Regions from separate parts of the Homo sapiens genome. Here region 2 is linked to region 1. The links are contacts of gene promoters, found by promoter capture Hi-C in blood cells and fetal thymus (Javierre and others, 2016). All regions are on one chromosome and are shown on one strand. Each heading gives the region's core, a stretch centred on a gene start or on the middle of the fragment in contact. The rest is flanking DNA. Distances are from core to core; before and after follow the strand shown.

The links. The method cuts DNA at HindIII sites, captures the fragments that hold promoters and counts their contacts. A CHiCAGO score of 5 or more calls a contact.
Region 2: the fragment with the promoter of PCDH8 here is called in contact with the fragment with the promoter of CNMD in region 1 in 2 of 17 cell types (endothelial precursors and erythroblasts); the score reaches 6.7 in endothelial precursors.

Annotation. Positions count from the first base shown.
Region 1 is chr13:52,735,777-52,742,036 of GRCh38, forward strand. CNMD (chondromodulin) reads right to left here and starts at 4,044. Exons shown (of 7, transcript NM_007015.3): 1 at 3,854-4,044; 2 at 3,255-3,395. The coding sequence starts at 3,925. RefSeq lists an enhancer at 1,614-2,115. The HindIII fragment of the contact is 4,345 bases long and covers 2,423-6,260 here.
Region 2 is chr13:52,844,426-52,850,923 of GRCh38, forward strand. PCDH8 (protocadherin 8) reads right to left here and starts at 4,215. Exons shown (of 3, transcript NM_002590.4): 1 at 1,381-4,215; 2 at 1,000-1,207; 3 at 1-508. The coding sequence starts at 4,011. The coding sequence ends at 135. RefSeq lists enhancers at 2,400-3,288, 3,289-4,178, 4,309-4,603, 5,949-6,243. The HindIII fragment of the contact is 1,116 bases long and covers 3,825-4,940 here.

The DNA.
Region 1 (6,260 bases), core at 2,794-5,293:
GATTGGACAAGCTTGACGTAGGGCATCTTGGTTGTGCAGCTGCGGCCCACCTTTTTTTTTTTTTTTTTTTTGAGATGGAGTCTTGCTCTGTCACCCAAGCTGGGGTGCAGTGGCACAATCTCGACTCACTGCAACCTCCGCCTCCCAGGTTCAAGCCATTCTCCTGCCTCAGCCTCCCAGGGAGCTGGGACTACAGGCATGCGCCACCACGCCCAGCTAATTTTTTTTTTTTTTTGAGACGGAGTCTTGCTCTGTCGCCCAGGCTGGAGTGCAGTGGCACAATCTCCACTCACTGCAAGCTCCGCCTCCTGGGTTCACACCATTCTCCTGCCTCAGCCTCCCAGGTAGCTGGGACTGCAGGTGCCCGCCACCAGGCCCAGCTAATTTTTTTGTATTTTTAGTAGAGACAGGGTTTCACTGTGTTAGCCAGGATGGTCTCCATCTCCTGACCTCGTGAGCCGCCCGCCTCGGCCTCCCGAAGTGCTGGGATTACAGGCGTGAGCCACCGCGCCCGGCCTTTATTTGCATTTTTAGTAGAGATGGGATTTCACCATGCTGGCCAGGCTGGTCTTGAACTCCTGACCTCAAGTGATCCTCCTGCCTTGGCCTCCCAAAGTGCTGGGATTACAGACGTGAGCCACCACGCCTGGCCTGCAGCCCACCTTTTATGTGCACTGCACCATCTGCATGGGGACAGCAGTGAAGCTGTCCCCCTCCTGAAGCTACTAGGGGAGGATGTGGGGGGAGGAGGCAGTCCAGTTTCTAACATACTAGACTCTGAGCTGGGGACGAGGCTGGGCTGTTGGAGCAGCAATTACCTTATCTGCTCTAAGTCCGTGGAGCTGTGGACACCCAAGGCTATTTTTATCCAAACAAGATGAAATTTATTATTTGCCAAAATTCTGCTCAATATGGTGCCTTTTACAGCCAAGGATATTTGCTAATGAGTTTTTAATAAGGCCTATGTTCTATAAGATTAATTACATAATGTTTGGGAAAATGTCTAGAAAAATTAGTCTGAGAGGAAAGGCCCCAAGCAATGATCTCCTTCCCTCATCTCACAGGGTGGGGTTGTCAGTTATCTCATATTGGTGGAAATTTCCCATATTTCAATGCCTTGTTCCATTTACAATAATGTGGATGAAAAATGGCCTCAATATTGGAGCCCAGTTCAGTTGTCCCCTGATTATTATTACTCCAGTGCTTCATAGTCCTCCAGCTAAATTTCAGTAAACCTGTCCTAAGGGGATTTACCCACATGAAAAGGATAGGAGGTGAATTACAGCTGGTTCTCCTCTATAAACCAATATAGAGGAGCCGAGGCACAGATAATCCCCAAAGAGTGGATAATCCATTTGGTTTGACAAGTCTTTCTGTTTGACAAAGACTTACCTTTTTTGATTACGTTTTGTCTGAGCTATTTAGATTTGTATTCAGGCAAAGCAGACCTGTGCATGTGCTATGCCTAGGTGGTGCAAAAATTACTCTATTTAGTATTTTGTGATTTGTTTTTCATACTTAAGTCATATGGATCAGGGAGAAAAAAACTATCATGATTTTCTTCATTCTCCTGTCTGTATAGGATATAGCAATAATTTTGATTGTTGACAATAAAATGTGATTCACTATTCCTCTGAATTCTTAGCATTTAATACTGCTCTCCTGAACCAGACAACCAACCATCTTGCAGTAAAGTAAAATATATGAAAAAAGGGAGCTGTGCTTATTCAGTATGATTGTTTAATCTCTCTTTTTAGAAGCCTGTCAGTTAGTGATGTTTACCTTGAATAATTAAATGACAAATGGTATTCATTTTAAAATATATCATGTCCAGAATCTTTACCAAAAAAAAGCATAGCTATTGTTATCCCCCATTGACCTATACCATTGAGGCTTTGTTATTTAAAAGATAGCATTTACATTCTAAAACCACAGAATTTCCCAAAGAGATGACAATCTAAACCCTGCTATTAATGGAGATGTAGATATTGAAATCATTCTCTTATTCACATTTGCTGTTTCAAACATGAGCATCTGGCCCAGCTTCTATATTTAAAATACAAATACATTAAGGCACTTTTCAAATACCCACAAAATACAGTGCAATTCTGATCTTACAAATCGATGCTTGTAAATTTGATATAGTCTCTAAAACAGACTCGGTGCTAAATGGCATGCTTATCTACATTAGACATTTGAGTTAAAAATACAAATTATGCAGTGACTGCAGAAGACGTGATGTGTAAAATGGTTGAATTGCTTTCAGCACCATTTTCTGTAAGTACTGGAATTCGTTCATGCTTTGCATTTCATGGTAGGAGAGAGGAAAAAACAGCAATCACCAATCCTCTGAGGATAGTGATTATGAAAGAGCCCTTTGTGTGTGCCCTGGAGATGGAATTCTTTTCCATTAGTTGAAATAAGCTTATACCAGACCTGGCAGTGGTCATCAAGATAAAATGCCCCCTTTTACATAGGTGAACACTTTCAGAGTATTTAGAGAACACACTGGAGCTCTGCCCAGTCAACTTAGAAACAGTCTTTATACTCCTCGAGAGCCGTGGAGCTTTAAAATAAATAGTTGCATACAAAGAAAGTAGGACAGCAGTTAGTAAAACACCTACTATTAAACCACATGTGATGACTAGGCCAGAATTAATTGTTAAAGAGATTTTCCACCTTTAAGGAAGTTAGACGTTTTGTTTGTTTGTTTGTTTTTTGTTTTTGTTTTCCAGAGAGAGAAGGGAATGTTCATGGCTAGGTCACAAAAAAACCTTCTGAAAGGCAAAAATTCCTTCCCAATGGGTCTGAATATGGGTCTGAATATTCCTCCACTATCTTTGTCCTGGATTTTAAACCCACAGCCTTTCTTAGCAGGGACAGGCCTTAGAGATCGTCCAGTTCCATTTTTTCCCTTCAGGACGAGTACACTGAGGCCAAAAGGTGACGTGCCTTCCCCACGGTCGCGCCACTGCTTAGTGGGAGATGAGCCGAGAACGGCCTTTCTCGGACCGTCCACTACATTCTCCCCTACTCTACGCTTCAATCTTCTCCCGTGAAACCTTCACTTGCTTTTCTACAACGTTGACCTAAGGCGGAAAGCCGCGTGCCAGAGTGGGATGGGAGAGGGGAGCTCACGCTGGGCCCGAGGGGCCCGCCGGCAGCCGCGCGCCCCTCGCCGGCCCGCGCTCGGGCTCCCCCTAGGGGCACCATGGGCGACACGGGGGTCCCCGCGCGCCGCCCTCTGGACTTACGTGACTGTCGCTCCCCTTCCAGAAGTAGAAGGCCCCGATGGCCCCAAAGAGCAGCAGCACAGCTCCCGAAATGAGGACCACGGCTCCCACCTTGAGCAGCCGCGCGGGGCTGGAGGGCTTCACCGTCAGCGTAGCGTACGCCTGCGGGCCGGGGCGGGAGAGGGACCGTCGCGTTTGTGCCGCCAGCACCTGCGGCCCCCAGCGCACCCGGGCCCCACGCGGTAGCCCCCAGGGAGTGGGGAGTCGGGCGGGAAACAGCTCGCCCGGGCTCCTACGGGTGCCCCTTTCGCCGCGCTCCCTCCCGAGGGTCCTTTGCAGTCGGGCGTGGAAGTGGGATGAGCAAACCCCGCAGCACAGGGCCTTCGCCCCAGGACCTGCACCCTCTACCGGCCACGGGACGTCCCTCCGCACCCGCCTGTGGATGCCGTGACCCCTGCACACTCATACGCGTGGGGCGACATCCCACCCACACATTTGGGACCCAAATTTATCCCCCCGCCAACACACCCATTCGGTGGCACGCACCCCTGAGTCCGAACTGTGGAACCTGATACTCACACAACCCAGGCCCTGCGTGTGGAATCCCTGGCGGTACTCACCGGGGGGCTGCAGAATTCCACGTCATCAGGTCCCACCAGGGCAATGGGAACTTTGTCGGAGTTCTCTGTCATGTTTGCGGCGGGAGGAGTGAGGCACTTGGAGACTCCCTGGGCACCCTGGGATCTGTCCCGCTGCCCCGACGTGCAGGGCATTTCAACGCCGCGCGCACACACGGTGCACGGTCCCGCCTGGGCCAGCCCAGCGGTCCCCACCCCTTCCAGCGCCTCACCTCTCTCCTCCCTTCTCTCTCCCGCCGCGGGAAGCTCGTCCTGCACTCCCGGATGCCCCCTTTCCTCCTCACTCTATCCTGTCTACTGGCCCCCCAAACAGCATCCCGGTGACTCTGAATGTGTGGGGGTGGTTGCATCCCTCAGAGCGGGATGCTGAATCCTGGGACCCAAAGAAATACTCAAGTGCCAGAGCAATTAGCCATGCACCGGAGGATGTCTTAGAATGTCAGCGGGCTCTGCTGTGACAACTGGCTGGAGGCCATTTCCTGCAGGGTCTTTGTAGGTGTGTGTTGGGGTGGGGGTGGGGGGAAGATGGCTCATGGAAGGTGAAGGAGAAGACAACAGAGTGGTGCAGGTGGACAGGGGACACTGGCCTAAGAGTGTAAGGGTTAGGCCACCTTCTCACTGGCCTGGCATTGCTGGATGGCCCCTGGGACTGGAAAACAGAGCAGGGTCTTAGGGATGGCTCCTTGCCACCAGTTTTTCTAGGGTCTGGGTACAACTGCAGCAAAAGTGAGAGCTAAGCAGAGCAGGGCTGGAGGGAAGGAGTTGGGGAGACCAGAATAAAAGTGCATGCTGGTTGGTTGAATAAATTAAATAAGTGCAAACAAAAGCAACAATGGCAAAGCACACACACACACACACACACACACACAGAGTACTGATGTATCCAAAGGAATAACACAAATGTGTGTGTGTGTGTGTGTGTGTGTGTGTATGTATGTATGTATATAAAATTTTCACTTTTGGAAATGCCATCTTCCAGTTCCAGGATACATGGTACTTCATTTGGATCCAGGCTTCCTTAAATTGCGTTCGATTCTAGCTTTGTGCAGAGCTCTCTGGTGAGGTGTAAGTGAGGAGCACTAGTGCATGAGAGGGATTGAGGCTTCCCCAAAGGGCAGCGGGAGATTGCATGTGCAGGACTGCAGAAGGAGAAAGTGTTGAAGAATCATCCAAGACATGTGATGAAGAATGAGGTGACAAGCATGATGACCTGGGGCTGGGAAGGAGGGGAGAAGTGGAGGAGACCACTTTCACAGAAGAATCGATAGGACTTGGCAATTCCTGGGCTGTGGGAACTGAGTTTTCAGACCTAGGAGGATTGGGAGAGTGATAGGAACCCTAGGGAAGTGAAAAAATTGGAAGAAACAGTTTTAGACATGTTGAGCTTGATGTGGGGATGAAAAGTAAAAGAGCCAAGGAAATGTCCTGAGCCTGCATTGGAATCAGCTATGGAAACAGCTGTCTGCACATCACACTAGACTTAAGGTGCTTGGAAAAAACTCCAGCAAGATCTCCAGCCAGGGCTCATCCCTGGGGCACTGCTGAGGCAGAGTTCAAAGACCTCTTTTCACAAGGGCATTCTTCACAGGAATTTTGGTGAAGGAATAAGAGAAGTAACTGTCAGAGAGGTGGGAGATGGTACAATATAAAGTAGTACATGTAATTTTAAAGGCACATTCAAGAAGGGTGGGTCAGCAGTGTCAAATGCTGAAAAAAAATGAGCACAGAGAAAGGCCTTGGAAGGGCACAACCAAGAGGCCATGGGAACCAGCGAGAGAGTAGTTCCATTTGCTTCCCTGGGCACAGAAGACACATTGCAAAGGGTTACAGAGTGATTAAAAATATTTGCAACTTATACCACAGACAAGGAACTAGTTTTCTTATATAGTGTTTTCCTAGGAAAACCAAAAGACCAAAAATGTAGTAGAAAAAATGGCAAAGAATGGAAACAGAGAGTTGGTGAAGCAAGAAGTAGAAATTTCTCTTAAATGTAAGAAGAATGAACAACAGCATTATTTTGCCTTTTTTTTTTTTTTTTTTTTTTTTTTTTTGAGACAGAGTCTTGCTCTATCGCCCAGGCTGGAGTGCAGTGGTGCGATTTTGGCTCACTGCAACCTCCACCTCCCAGGTTCAAGTGGTTCTCCTGCCTCAGCCTCCCAAGTGGCTGGTATTACAGGCGCCAGCCACCATGCCTGACTAATTTTTCTATTTTTAATAGAGGCAGGGTTTCACCACGTTCGCCAGGCTGGTCTCGAACTCCTGACATCAAGTGATCCGCCCACCTTGACCTTCCAAAATGCTGGGATTACAGGCATGAGCCACCACGCCTGGCCACAACTGCATTCATACAAGGAAATGCAAATTAAAAGTAGACTGGTTCACCTATGAG
Region 2 (6,498 bases), core at 2,965-5,464, 110 kb after region 1:
TGATTGGAAATAGCTTCCAACAACTTCATTGTAAGGCACATCTTGCATATTTATATATACAACACTGAAACCGGTCAATAACTTAGGGGCTTCTCGGAGTGACCTGTATATGTGTGAAGACATGCAGCATGGGATTACACATTTTCATTGGCTCCCTTCTTCGGGGACAGGTACCTGCCAGGAGGGGACTGGTAGAGGGGTACTCCAATCTCCTGCAGGTCTGGGAGCCTCCCTGGACGGGGAGGGGAGAGCAGAGTGACTGTCCTGTCATAGTCTCTGTGCAGTACTTTCTCATAGACGCTCTGCAGCCCCACTGTCTTGGGCAGCTGGGCCTGGTAGTAATTGTCCCTGCGCAGAGGATCCCGAGGCAGTGACGTGCTCTTACAGAAGGTTGACATCTGGGCTGGTGGGTGAGGCGATGGATGTGCGTTGGGCCCGCTGCAGGATGGGCTCCAGCAGCGGTCAGAGTGGCCCAGGATCTTACACTCAGCGGTGCACGCCCACAGTCCTAATACGAAAGGGAAAAGGAAACAGCATGACGATTATTCCTGAGATTATACATATTCAGGCTTCCATCTTCAGCATGTCAGCCTGGGTCAGGGCAGCTGAAAGGAAAGGCTGTGCGCATAGATATACACCGTGTCTCAAGAATCGAAGGCACATTGCTTCCTGTAAAGCCATCTTAATGCAAAGCTGGTCCAGCTTCTTCAGCTGGAAGTGAAAAAAAAAATTGATAAGCAGAACCCACTTTTTAATGGCTAGCATCACCCATGCTGCTGCCTAACAGGATGAGGGTGTGTTTTATTCAAGAGCTGGAGTTGCCTCGACTTGGCATTTTGAAATTCACCGTGTGAGGCAGGCCCGTATCCGCAGCTGTAGGAGTGAGAAAAAGTGGGGAAGAGGGAAGGGGGCTGGGAACCGAGATTGAGAGGAGGCAAACAGTGGTGAAGGGGAGGGAAGGGAGGAATGCCGAATTTGGCGGGAAAGAAGAGTCCTCACCACTCTGCATGTGGTTGATGAGATCCTTTTTCAGAGCGTCCCCGCTGATGTCGGAATCGCTGTCGTTGAAATCACTGTCCCCTTTACCGCTGTCTTTGCCGCTGAACTTCTCTGCTTCTCTGCCAGAAATGGTGTTGAAGGAGTGTCCTTTCCACACCGCCACAGGGGGCGCCGGCTCCTTTCCAAAACCCGGGGAGGCACCGTAGGGCTGCAGCAGGGAATAGGGGAATGGGAGTGGGGGGAGGGTTGGATAAGAAACAAACAAAAAACAAGTGCGACAGGTTGTCTACCTGAATGCACCCACCCTACCCCTCCAGTCTCCCTTCCCCCAGCCTGTCCGCGGAGCTCGGAGGGGGGCGCCCAGCCGAAGGAAGGCCTCACCTCGGCGTGCGCGCCGCGGAGCCGCTGCTGCCCCTCGAAGTGACAGGCGCTTTCCCCAGTGGCGCTGCCGCCCTCTGAGCCCGGCACTTCGGCCGCGGCGACCGCAGGCGGAGGCGCGTCCGCCGCGGGGCTGCCAAAGGGCGCTTTGCCGGTGCCAGGGAAGGTGAGCACGTCGAACATGTTGGGCCTGGGCCCGGCTCCCCGGGCGGCCTCCTCCGGGGAGCCGGGAGCCGAGGCTCCGCCGCCCGCCGCCCCGGGCCGCTCTTCCCGGAGGGCCCCCCCTTTGCGCACCTCCTTCTTGCGGCGGTTGCAGGTGGTGGCGATGGCGATGATGGCGGCCAGCAGCAGCGTGCAGCTCCCGGCCAGCACGATGATGACGATCAGCGGCGTGTCCCATTGCAGCACCGACCCGGACACCCCGAGCCGAGAGCCAGGCGGGCGGGAACGCTCCGGGCTTCCTGCACTGGCAGGCGCAGCCGGCCCACGCCCGCCCCCTGCTGTTACCACGAAGCTGACAGTTGCGGTGGTGGTGAGCGGGGGACGGCCGCCGTCGGATATGACCAGGAGCGCCCTGAACACGCGACCGGGTGGCTCCTGCGAGAGGTCGCCGGTGAGCAGTATCTCCCCCGTGCGGCGGCCGATGGCGAAGGCTTCGCGCGGCTCCTGCTGCTGCAGCTCGAACGCCAGCTCCCCGTTGGCTCCCTCGTCTGCATCCCGGGCCTGCACACGGGCCACAACCGTGTCCTTTGCGGTGCGCCCAGGCACCGCCACTTCTAGGGAGCCATTGGCTGGCGCCGGGTGCACCAGGACTGGCGCATGGTCGTTCTGGTCCAGCACGCGCACTTGCACTAGGGCGCTGCTGGAAAGCTGAGGGGAGCCGCCGTCGCTAGCTTGGATGCGAACGTCGAGTTGGCGCAGCGTCTCATAGTCGAAGCTGCGCAGCGCGTAGATGGCTCCGGTAGCTGGGTCCACCGAGACATAAGTGGACACGGCGCCCCCGGCGCGGCCCACCTCGGCCTCCAGCAGCCGGTAGGTGACCTGGCCGTTGCGGCCCAGGTCCCGGTCGCGGGCGGCCACCGTGGCCAGGTAGGCGCCTGGCGGGTTGTTCTCGCGCACCGACACCTCATAGACCGGCCGCGTGAAGAGCGGCGCGTTGTCGTTCTCGTCGCCCACACGCACCGTGTAGGGCCGCACTGTGCGCAGCGGGGGCGCGCCGCGATCCTCGGCCACCAGCGTCAAGTTGTACTCGGCGATGCGTTCGCGGTCCAGCGACGCCGCGGTCACCACCAGGTAGCTGCCCGCGTAGGCCGGCTGCAGCCGGAAGTGCTCGTGCCCATAGAGGGCGCAGCGCACTTGCCCGTTGGCGCCCGAGTCCCTGTCCGAGGTGCTGACCAGGGCCACCAGGCTCTCGCGCGCCGCCCCCTCCGGCACCAGCGAAGTGGCACCAGCCTCCGGCGTCCCGGCTCCCGCCGGCGAGCTAGCGTCCGCTCCCCCGAGTGCAGCGGCGGCGGCGGCAGCGGCGAAGGGTGAGGTTGCCGGCGCGCCTGGGGCGGCCAGCGGGGTGATGGCGATGTCGGGTGCGTTGTCATTGACGTCTCGGATGCGCACGATGACCTTGCAGGTGGCAGCGCGGGGCCCGGGTCCGCGGTCCTGCGCCCGCACGTCCAGCTCGTAGGTGTCCTGACGCTCGTAGTCCACGGGCCCGGCCAGGGTGAGGCGGCCTGATCGCGGGTCAAGCCGAAAGAGGCGGCGCGCCTCCGGCGGGGTGCGGGCGCCAAATGCGAACACCACGTCGCCGTTAGGTCCCTCGTCGGGGTCGGCTGCGTCCAGGTCGAGAAGCAGGGAGCCCACGGGCGCGTCTTCCGCCAGCTCCACTTCGGCCACGGCGCCCTGCGGGAAGGCCGGGCTGTGGTCATTCGCATCCAGGACGCGCACGCTGAGGGCAGCCGTGGCGGAGCGCGGCGGGCGGCCGCCGTCCTGGGCCACCAGCTCCAGGCTGTAGGCGGCCTGGCTCTCGCGGTCCAGCTCCTGCAGCAGCACCAGGTCTGCGCACTGAGCGCCGTCCGCTCGCGTCTGCAGCTCCACGCGAAAGGGGCTGTGCGGCTCGGCCAGGCGCACGGTCTGCAGCCCGTTGGCGCCCACGTCCTCGTCCACCGGCACCTCCAAGGGGATGCGCGTGCCCACTGCCGCACCCTCGGACACCTCTACCGGGATCTGGGCCCTGGGGAAGCGCGGCGCGTGGTCGTTGACGTCCCTCACCTCTACCTCCACGTGCACCAGCCGGAACTGCTCCTGCGAGAAGCTGACCACATCGAAGGCCAGCACGCACTGCGGGGCCTGGCCACACAGCCGCTCGCGGTCCAGGCCGGCGTCCCCGACGGTCAGCTGCCCGTCGCCTTCGCGCACCCGGAGCAGAGAGCTGTTGAATTGCTTCATCAGGCGGAAGCTTGTGTCACCCGATACTTTCATATGCAGGTCCTCGGCCAGGGTCCCGATGACCGTGCCGGGGGCATCCTCCTCGAAGGTGCTGTATCGGACTGTTTTGCTCTGGGCCACTGAGAGCACCCAGCAGAGGCTGAAGAGCTGCAAGGGGAAAAGGCAGGGGCTGCCCCAACGCCTCACAGGACTCATGCCTCCAGCCTCAAGTGCGATCCGAAAGGCTAAGGAAGTCTTCTCTGGTTTCCAGGTCGGGCGTCAGTCTCAGGCTCTCGGAATCACGCTCTTTGCGAGCCCTGTGCGGGAGAAGTCTGCGGGTAGCAGCTCCGAGCCTCCAGCGGGCTCTGAGGACGCGCGGACCCGCCCTCACTCTGCGCCTCTCCGTCTCTTACAGAAGCTGCGCCGCCTCGCGCCGCCTTTGCCTTTATAGCCGCCGATATGCTAATCACCCGAGCCGGGTAGCCAATGGCCGCCTCCCCCTCGCGTCGCCCCTCCGCCTGCCTCTGACAATCCCTTTAATGTGGAAAGGCTTAGAGGGGAAAACAAGAAAGGAAAATTAGGGAATCTTTCTTTTGTTTAACTCCTTTTGCTTTTTCCCCCTTTTCTTGTCAGCACCCTGCATGTAGAGGAGTTGGCACAGGGCTCCAGGAGTAAAAGGAGCGGATGGTTTTGTTAATTGTCGCCTGCCTCCCTCCGTGCCGCGGCTAGAACTAAGTGCGAACACGCTGGGGTTTCACCCCAGTGGCTCCTGATTCCGCCTTCCCCCAGCCCCTGCCAACACACACACTCTGCATTTTGCACCTCTGACGCTTCCAAACCCTTGCAGCCCCCTACCCACAGACTTGCTCTGCTGAATGAGGCTCTGCTTTCCTTCTCTCCTAGCTACGGTGCCTGGAATAGCCTCTCGATTAAGAAGCCTGAAGGATAAGGGAAAATTGATTTTATTCAAATTTGTGTACTCAATTGTGTTTTGCTCGTGTGAGCCCCAGTGATCAGAGCTGCCACTTCCCTTTCAGAAAAGAGCCCCGCGATATGTTAGTATGCACGTCACTGTCCAAGTGGCCTTCTTAAGCCCTGGGAGCTAGCAGGCAAGGAAAAAAAAGTTCCAAATAGGATTTAGCATAAGCTTGAGGAGATTTGGAAAGGTTTCAAAGATCAGACTGTATCAAAGGCTTATGAAGCCCTCGTTAGCAGTGGAAATAGAATGGTGTGGCAGGCGATCCCATTGGAGGCCCCAATGTCTGTATTATTTCACTGTGACAAGCTAAGGGGAGAGAAAGTTGAACAGTTTCCACAGCGGAGTTGGACTAACTTGAATATAATGAGCAAACGCCACATGTATCCATTATGTTCCTCTATTCATCCCCAATCACTGCCATAACTCTCCGGCTAAACGGTGATGGGCGCTGAATTCCACACAATACCCGGCTCGTATTAAAGTGCATTTAGAGAACTTTTTCCTCCTGATGCCTTGTTCCGCCTATTTAGAGGATTTTCTTTCTGTTCTAATAGGGCCACTCTGGGAAGCAACACTCGTCCGGTTCCAGAAGAACAAAATCACAGCGTGACGTTGAAACCTGGCAGGAACGTGGGGGGAACTTAACCATCTGCTTAGGAAAGTGTGGAGCTTCGGCACTGCCAAAATCTGGGCTGGGCGGATCCTGGGGCTGGCCGGGCGCTGCGCTGCCCCACAGATAGCCCCCTCCCATCCCTGACGGCCAGGGAGATGGAGCTCGGATCTGCAACAAGACGGATTCTTAATGATTCTTACTGAAGGGCTTTATTGAGCAGGCTATGCAAATACACACGAAGGAGGAAAGGTAAAAAACAAAAGCCACTCACTGGAAGAAATTTTTCTTTTTAGGCGATAGGTTTGGTAAGTAGATTGAATTCAGTAAACATTCTTCAGAATCCCGATTTTGGTCCTGCTGTCAGCGTCCTATCCATGTTTTCCTTTCCCTCAAACTCGAGGGAGTGTGTTTTGGGTTTTTTTTCAGAAGAGGGTCAGGAGTTTCCTTGGAGTAGGGAGACCAAGCAGGGAGCTGGGTGGCAGGGATGAGAGGTGCTTGGAATTGTCAGAGAGCGGAACATGCAGCTCCAGCCATCCATAAATACAAGCTCTTATAAGACTGGGGAGGGGGATGATGAGTGGCTGGAGACTTCCTCAGAGGGGTGTGTCTCTGGGTTCCCTTCTCCACCTCTTCCACCTTGTAGTCTTGGGAATGCTAAAAGCAATAAGGCCAGGCATCTGCAGCCGCGTGGGGACGTGGAAGGAGGAGCGCCCCCTACAGGAGCCCAAATCGCAGCCCTTTCTTCCGCTGTCTTCCATCTCCCAAGTGCGATTTAGTATGTAGCCCTCCCACCGTCCCCGCCCAAGAGATATTCCTTGGGGGGTACACGCAGTCGAAGGAACTTTCTATTTTCCTTCCGAGCCCCGCAACACTCCCACCCCAACCTGGGGCTGGCTGGTGACCTTTAGCGCCCCTAGGCTAACGTCATCTCTCCTCACCCCTCTTCCCCCGGAGACCCAGACGGGAACAGGTTCAGAACTTGGCTGGTGGACAGCGGCCTCAGCGCTTCCGCTGGCGTACCCAGGGCAAGGTCAGGCCCGCCTGGCGCTGCTGCTGCCGGGCGGAGGACCCGGAAGGTGGGGAAAGTGGGTGGAAATGGGGCCGGAGTCCC